2 separate regions of the Homo sapiens genome follow, and region 2 is linked to region 1. Evidence: promoter capture Hi-C in human tissues and cell types (Jung and others, 2019). All regions are on one chromosome and are shown on one strand. Each heading gives the region's core, a stretch centred on a gene start or on the middle of the fragment in contact. The rest is flanking DNA. Distances are from core to core; before and after follow the strand shown. Region 1 holds the start of NOTCH1 (notch receptor 1). Region 2 overlaps FBXW5 (F-box and WD repeat domain containing 5).

What was found. The method cuts DNA at HindIII sites, captures the fragments that hold promoters and counts their contacts. A contact is called where the count stands out against the background at its distance.
Region 2: a fragment that was not itself captured here is called in contact with the fragment with the promoter of NOTCH1 in region 1 in 1 of the 25 tissues and cell types used here (lymphoblastoid cells).

Annotation. Positions count from the first base shown.
Region 1 is chr9:136,544,437-136,547,632 of GRCh38, reverse strand. NOTCH1 (notch receptor 1) reads left to right here and starts at 1,585. Exons shown (of 34, transcript NM_017617.5): 1 at 1,585-1,907. The coding sequence starts at 1,847. MIR4674 (microRNA 4674) reads left to right here and starts at 1,374; the gene lies at 1,374-1,460. RefSeq lists enhancers at 1-728, 2,701-2,750 and silencers at 921-1,020, 1,361-1,920, 1,941-2,200, 2,421-2,470. The HindIII fragment of the contact is 7,823 bases long and covers 1-3,196 here.
Region 2 is chr9:136,939,095-136,942,290 of GRCh38, reverse strand. FBXW5 (F-box and WD repeat domain containing 5) reads left to right here. Exons shown (of 9, transcript NM_018998.4): 6 at 1-245; 7 at 607-754; 8 at 828-1,040; 9 at 1,120-1,856. The coding sequence ends at 1,363. Among named protein-coding and RNA genes, the nearest start is that of FBXW5, 4.0 kb to the left of the region's middle. The HindIII fragment of the contact is 5,626 bases long and covers 1-3,196 here.

The DNA of each region.
Region 1 (3,196 bases), core at 336-2,835:
AGTCGCACCCGCACCCGATCAGCACCAGGCCTGAGGCCTTCGGGCCTCCCTATGCCCCACCCCACCCCCACCCACCAGGAGCAGAGGACGTCGTGGTGGGCAGAGTCCTCAGCCTGGGAGCTGCACAGCCCCGCGCTTCCTTCTATGGAAAATCTGCTCCTCCAGGCTGCCTGGCTGCTGTTACATAAACATCTCTGCTGCCTCCAGGCGCCTCCTCTCCTGGGGCGCTGACCCCAAGATGTTACCCCAGGCCTGCAGAAGTGAGGCCAGATTCTGGGAGGACGCAGGCGAGGGAGGCTCCCAGCAGCAGCTACAGGGGCGGGACAGGCCGCCTGCACTGGCTGTTTCCAGAGTGCTCAGCATTTGGCAAGAGGTGTGCCAGGAAAGGCTTGCTGGGGTCAGGTGTGAGATTTGTCCTGCTTTCTGTGCCTGCCTCTGCCACCATGCTCTGGGGTTTCTGCAGCCCTCCCCCCAGGCCCCCACAGTCCTAGGTCCCTCCCAGCCTTTCGGTCTCCCCGCAGGGCAGGCTTAGCCCTCCTACTCCAGGAGGGGCGCCGGGACACGCGCCTTCTGCCATCGCACTCACCACCCTGTGTTGGGGTGGGGAGGGGGCGCTGTCTGTCCCTGGCACGAGGCCGTGAACTTTGCGCAGGGACTATGGCAGGCATTTTGGACTCCTGGCGCTTAACCAGGCTTGGCACAGGGTGCCCGTGCCTGGCATCGTGGTGGAGAAATAAATCAGCCGGAAGGAGCACGTGGGAAGGGCTGCGCCGGCGCCAGCGGCAGATCCGCCCGACCCGTTTGTGCTTTCTGGGGCCACCTTAGGCAGGCGGCGCCCGGGCAGGAGGAGGACGGTGACCGAGGAGCGTGTCGACGCGGGTCCCCCTTGGGGGAGCGGGGCACAATCCGTCCGCGAGGCACTGGTCCCGGCTGCTCCCTCGGGGCGCCCGGAGTCCCCTGCCCAGAGGCCGCGGCGCCCCCATCCCTCGCGGTCAAGTGCTCGGGCAATCACGGCCAGGGATGTCTGGCGGCGATCGATCCTCTGGACGCCTAAAGCCGCGGCCACGGGGCCCTCGGGAGGGAGTGAAGCCGCTGGGCTAGGGGCGCACACACGGCTAGGCCACTCTCCCAGAGCCCTGCCCCGGGCCCGGGGTCCCCCAACGTGGCCTCAGCTGCTCCCCGCCCGGCCCAGCGCACGGTGCACACGGCTGTCCGCGGCCTCGCCCTCCCCATTCCGCCCCGGGCTCCTCCGCTTATTCACATGCAAATTTCAGTCGCCAGTTGTCGCCGAGCGCGGCAACCGCCAGAGCCGGATCCTTCCGCAGCCCCGGCTCAAACTTTTGGCCTCTGAAAACTTTCAAACGAGAAGTAGTCCCAGGCGCCCGCTCCCGACCCACGCCGCGCCGCCGGGTCCCTCCTCCCCGGAGAGGCTGGGCTCGGGACGCGCGGCTCAGCTCGGGGAGGCGCAAAGGCGGACGGGGCGTGCGGGAGGAGGTGGCCGCGGAGGGGGCGGGGGGACCGGCGGGGGTGGGGCCGGGCGGGGCGGGGCCGGCGGGGGCGGAGCGCACCTCGACTCTGAGCCTCACTAGTGCCTCGGCCGCGGGAGGGAGCGCAAGGGCGCGGGGCGCGGGGCGCGGGCGCGGGCGCGAGCGCAGCGAAGGAACGAGCCGGGCGCGGAGCCGGGCCCGGGGGCCTGCGAGAGCACAGCGCCGCCAGCCAGCCGGGGAAGAGAGGGCGGGACCGTCCGCCGCCGCCCCGGGACCGTACGCCGCGCGTGTGCGTCCCAGCCCCGCCGGCCAGCGCAGGAGGCCGCCGCCCGGGCGCAGAGGGCAGCCGGTGGGGAGGCATGCCGCCGCTCCTGGCGCCCCTGCTCTGCCTGGCGCTGCTGCCCGCGCTCGCCGCACGAGGTAGGCGCCCACCCACCCGCGAGCCCCCACTTTCCGCGCCCTTTGGAAACTTTGGCGGCGCCCGGCGCGCGCGCCCCACGGCTGGGAGCGGGCGGCGGGGAGGCCAGCATGGAGAGGGAAAAGCGGGCGGCCCGGGGCGTGGGGTTCTGGAGTCCCGGGATCAGGGAGGACCGACCTTCCCCCTCGATCCCCCCGTGGAGGCGGACTCGCGCCGCCCGTGCCTGGAGCCGAGTTAGGAGGCCGGTGTGGGGTGCTGGGGCCCCGGAGGCCCTACTCCGGGCCCGCCCTTCACCCGCCGCGCGTGGGGCTTGCCGCCGGTCGGCCGGGCGGGCGGGCTGCCTACTATTTTTCGATTTGAATAGAGTCGGTTTTGGTTTCCTGTTGCTTCTCCGGGCCATTTATCTTCTTTCTTCTTCGCCTCTGGCCCACGCCGGGGCGGATGTTGGGGCGCGGAGTGTGGGCTCTGCGGCGCCGCGTTCGCCTTCACTGACCCGCGCGGCCGGGCTGGGTCCCCGGGCTCCCGGTCGCCCCGCCCGCCGGTGCCCCCCAGCCCGGCTCTCAGTTTGGGGGAGGGGTTGCGTAAGAAGCCGCCGCGCCCGGGGGGACTGAACTTTCCTTTTGCTTTGCGGAGTTGAAGTTTGGAAAGCTTGGGGGCGGAGAGCGGGACGCGGGTGGGGGGCTCTTACATTTCTCCCCGCCGCACAGCGAGCGGGGTCTCTGGGGAATCGAGTGATTAATCCACTCTTTCTCCGAGAGTTGGAGGCGAGAATTATCTGTCCTCTTCCAGAAAGTGCGGCTCTGTGTCACACCCCCCTCCCCCGTTTCTCAGCCCCGGTAAGATGGGGAGGGAGGGGCTTGAGTAATTGATCCCTTCTCGAGATGGGGTCGAATTCCTTCCGAATGGGGGACCTTCATCCCCCTCCTGTGGGTGTATGGGGGCTGCCCTGGAGATGCGCGCCCGCGGAGGCAGGTATTGGGTGTCGGCGGAGGCGGGGCCGCGTCCCCAGGGTGCTGTCCCGGTGCCCCTGGAGGCGGCCCCGACTCCACAATGGGCCGCTCTGATTCTGAGGCGGAGGCCGGCGCTTTGTTGGCGGGCGGGGTAGCGGGCGAGCAGCTGTCGCATTTTCCCACGGGCGGGAGCTGAGTGTGGCCACCCCCCCTCCCCCCGTCCAGCTCTGCCCCCTTGCAGAACGGGTTTGAACAGAGGCAATCTCGGCGGCTGGATGGGGGGCCCTGCCCTGCCAGACTCCTCAGTGAGCCTCCAGGGTGGGGGGCAACGCTTTGGAGAG
Region 2 (3,196 bases), core at 240-2,739, 390 kb before region 1:
CGACAACGAGGAGGTGGTGGCTGGCCCGGCCCCCGCCCACGCCAAGGAGGGCTTGCGGCACTTTCTGGACCGCGTGCTGGAGGGGCGGGCGCAGCCACAGCTGTCGGAGCGCATGCTAGAGACCAAGGTGGCCGAGCTGCTGGCCCAGGGCCACACCAAGCCACCCGAGCGCAGTGCCACAGGCGCCAAGAGCAAGTACCTCATCTTCACCACTGGCTGCCTCACCTACTCCCCACACCAGATCGGTACACCCCTGCCGCCATGCTGCCCGCCTCGGTCCTAGGAGCTTGGGGGAGGCCGGGCAGGGGTCCTGAGGGGCAGACAGCAAGCAAGTCCACAGGCAAAGCTGGGATCGTTCACTCGCCCCTGGGGTCACAAGCCCAGACCTGGGGCCTGTGGGATGAGCAGTGAAAACAAACGCAGGCAGGGCCGCTGGCCAGCAAGCAACCGACGGGCCTGATTCAGGTCTGGGGCCCCCGGAGCAGGCAGTGCCCACGGACCTCTGTGGTGCTCACAGCCCCAGAGACACCACTGAGGTAGGAAGCTGCCCTGGAGTGATGTCCTTGGGGCATTGGACAGGGACCCTCACCGTAGCCCTCCCTGCAGGCATCAAGCAGATCCTGCCACACCAGATGACCACGGCAGGGCCCGTGCTGGGTGAGGGCCGGGGCTCCGATGCCTTCTTCGACGCGCTGGACCACGTCATAGACATACACGGACACATCATCGGCATGGGCCTGTCGCCCGACAACAGGTGGGCCTCTTGCCAGTGTCCCAGGCGGGGTGCCCGCAGGCGGCCCACACCTAGCACAGTGCCCCTCGCCCAGGTACCTGTACGTGAACAGCCGCGCCTGGCCCAACGGTGCGGTGGTGGCCGACCCCATGCAGCCGCCACCAATCGCGGAGGAGATTGACCTGCTGGTGTTCGACCTCAAGACCATGCGGGAGGTGAGGCGGGCTCTGCGTGCGCACCGCGCCTACACGCCCAACGACGAGTGCTTCTTCATCTTCCTGGACGTCAGCAGGGACTTCGTGGCCAGGTGCAGGGCGCGGCGTGGTGCAGGGCGGGTGTGGGCAGCAGCGGGCGGGCGGCCGGCTCACCCAGGCGCTGTTCTGCAGCGGGGCGGAGGACCGGCACGGCTACATCTGGGACCGCCACTACAACATCTGTCTGGCCAGGCTGCGGCACGAGGATGTGGTCAACTCAGTGGTCTTCAGTCCCCAGGAGCAGGAGCTGCTGCTCACGGCCAGCGACGACGCCACCATCAAAGCCTGGCGCTCCCCACGCACCATGCGCGTCCTCCAGGCACCTCGCCCACGGCCTCGCACCTTCTTCTCCTGGCTTGCCAGCCAGAGGCGCTGAGGTGTGCTGGGTGCACTGGAGCCACCGGGACCCCTTGAGGACATCGCCAGGCTCTGTGGCTTTTTCCCGAGCGGGAGAGGTGGAGATGCTTATAGCAGTTACGCCTTAGGAAGGGGACAACCAGGCCCCGCCACACGCTCACACACAAACCTGCTCACGCAGCTGTGATGCTTGGCACGGGGTGGCCAGTGCAGATGGAGCCCAAGGCCCCCTCGGCCTCCTGGGCAACTTGGGGTACACAGGATACTGGGGGTGCCGCTCCTCACTCAACCCCAGGCTAGGGGTACACCTGACCCAGCTGGCCTCGGCCCGGGGCACCTTCGGCTGGTCCTGTGGGGCCCTGGACGGTGGCCCAGTGGTGGCAGGGGCTGCTCCTGGCTGTGGTTGTGCGCCCGGGGCTTGGGAGCGGCCGGTCACGCTGCTGTGGGCCCGAGTGTGTTGCATGTCCACGCACCACCCGTTCAGGGCCCTGAATAAACAGTTGGCAACAGCACATTGTTGTCCAGTCTCTGTCTGCAGGGAGGGAGACTGTGGGCACTGCTGGCACAGTGGAGTGGACCTCATGGTCACTGCTGACGGGTGACGCTGTTATTGCTGGCACAGTGGTCCTACTGGAGTGAATGTTGCAGTCACTGCTGACAGGTGACATGTGCGTCTGAGGTCATGTGCTGGTGCCAGACTTTGTCACACTGCCCTGTCCTCCATGACCTCCAGGGAGATGCCTGGCACATGTGCCGGGGCTGGCAGCATGCAGGGCCTGCCGTCTGGGTCCAGGGTCAGTAGGCCACGTCACTCCCAGTGCCAGGGCAGCCCCCCCAGTCAGTCCCGTCCTTGAGGGAGTTCCTCAGCTGCTGGGTCCAGAGTCGGCAGGCTGCGTCGCTCCCAGTGCCAGGGCAGCCCCCACAGTCAGTCCCATCCTTAAGGGAGTTCCTCGGCTGCTGGGTCCAGAGTTGGCAGGCTGCGTCACTCCCAGTGCCAGGGCGGCCCCCCACAGTCCCGTCCTTGAGGGAGTCCCTCGGCTGCTGGGTCCAGAGTCGGCAGGCCGTGTCGCTCCCAGTGCCAGGGCGGTCTCCACAGTCAGTTCAGGCCGGCGAGGATGGGACCAGGGGCCCAGAAGTGGGAGCAGAGGTGGAGCTCCAGCTGGACCCCACAGGCTTTGTTGGAACTGCACCGGGAGCTCGGGGGCCCGGGGCGATGGTGGTGACAAGGAAGATGGCAGGAGTAGAGCCTGGCACTCGGGTCAGCTGCCCATTATAGGAAGCACACAGAGCTTGTGGCTCCAAACATGGCAGCAAGCAACCCCGTACAGAGAAAGGACGCAGAGGAGACGAGTGAGTGTCGAGGTGATGGTTCCCCTGAGCCACGTGGGCCGCAGGTAGAGACCCTGGGGCTGAGCTCGAGCACCGACGGGATCAGGGACAGCACCACCGAGAGAGGCTGCGCCACCCAGAGGGACGGAGCCTCTGCCCTGCCAACTCCTGGTCTCCAGCTGGGAAGCCCTGGGGACCACTGCAGTTCATAATAAAACCCCCAACGTGGGCGAGAACAAGGAAAGGAAGGAAGACACACCAAAGACCCCCAGACAAGATAAGCTGCCCTGAGACTAACACCCTCAGAAGGGAGCTGACAGATTCTGTAAATGCAAGCACACCACGGGCAGGCTCCAAAGAATTGAGCAATTTCCTGAAAAGGACTTACCTACGTTCACATTCAAGGAGACTAACAAAAACATTCCTATGCACCATAAAACAAAAGTGGGGACAGAAATCAAGAGGACTTGGACATTTCAAAATAAAAAGGGAGCCAATTAGACACTGGAAAATGACAGGGCGA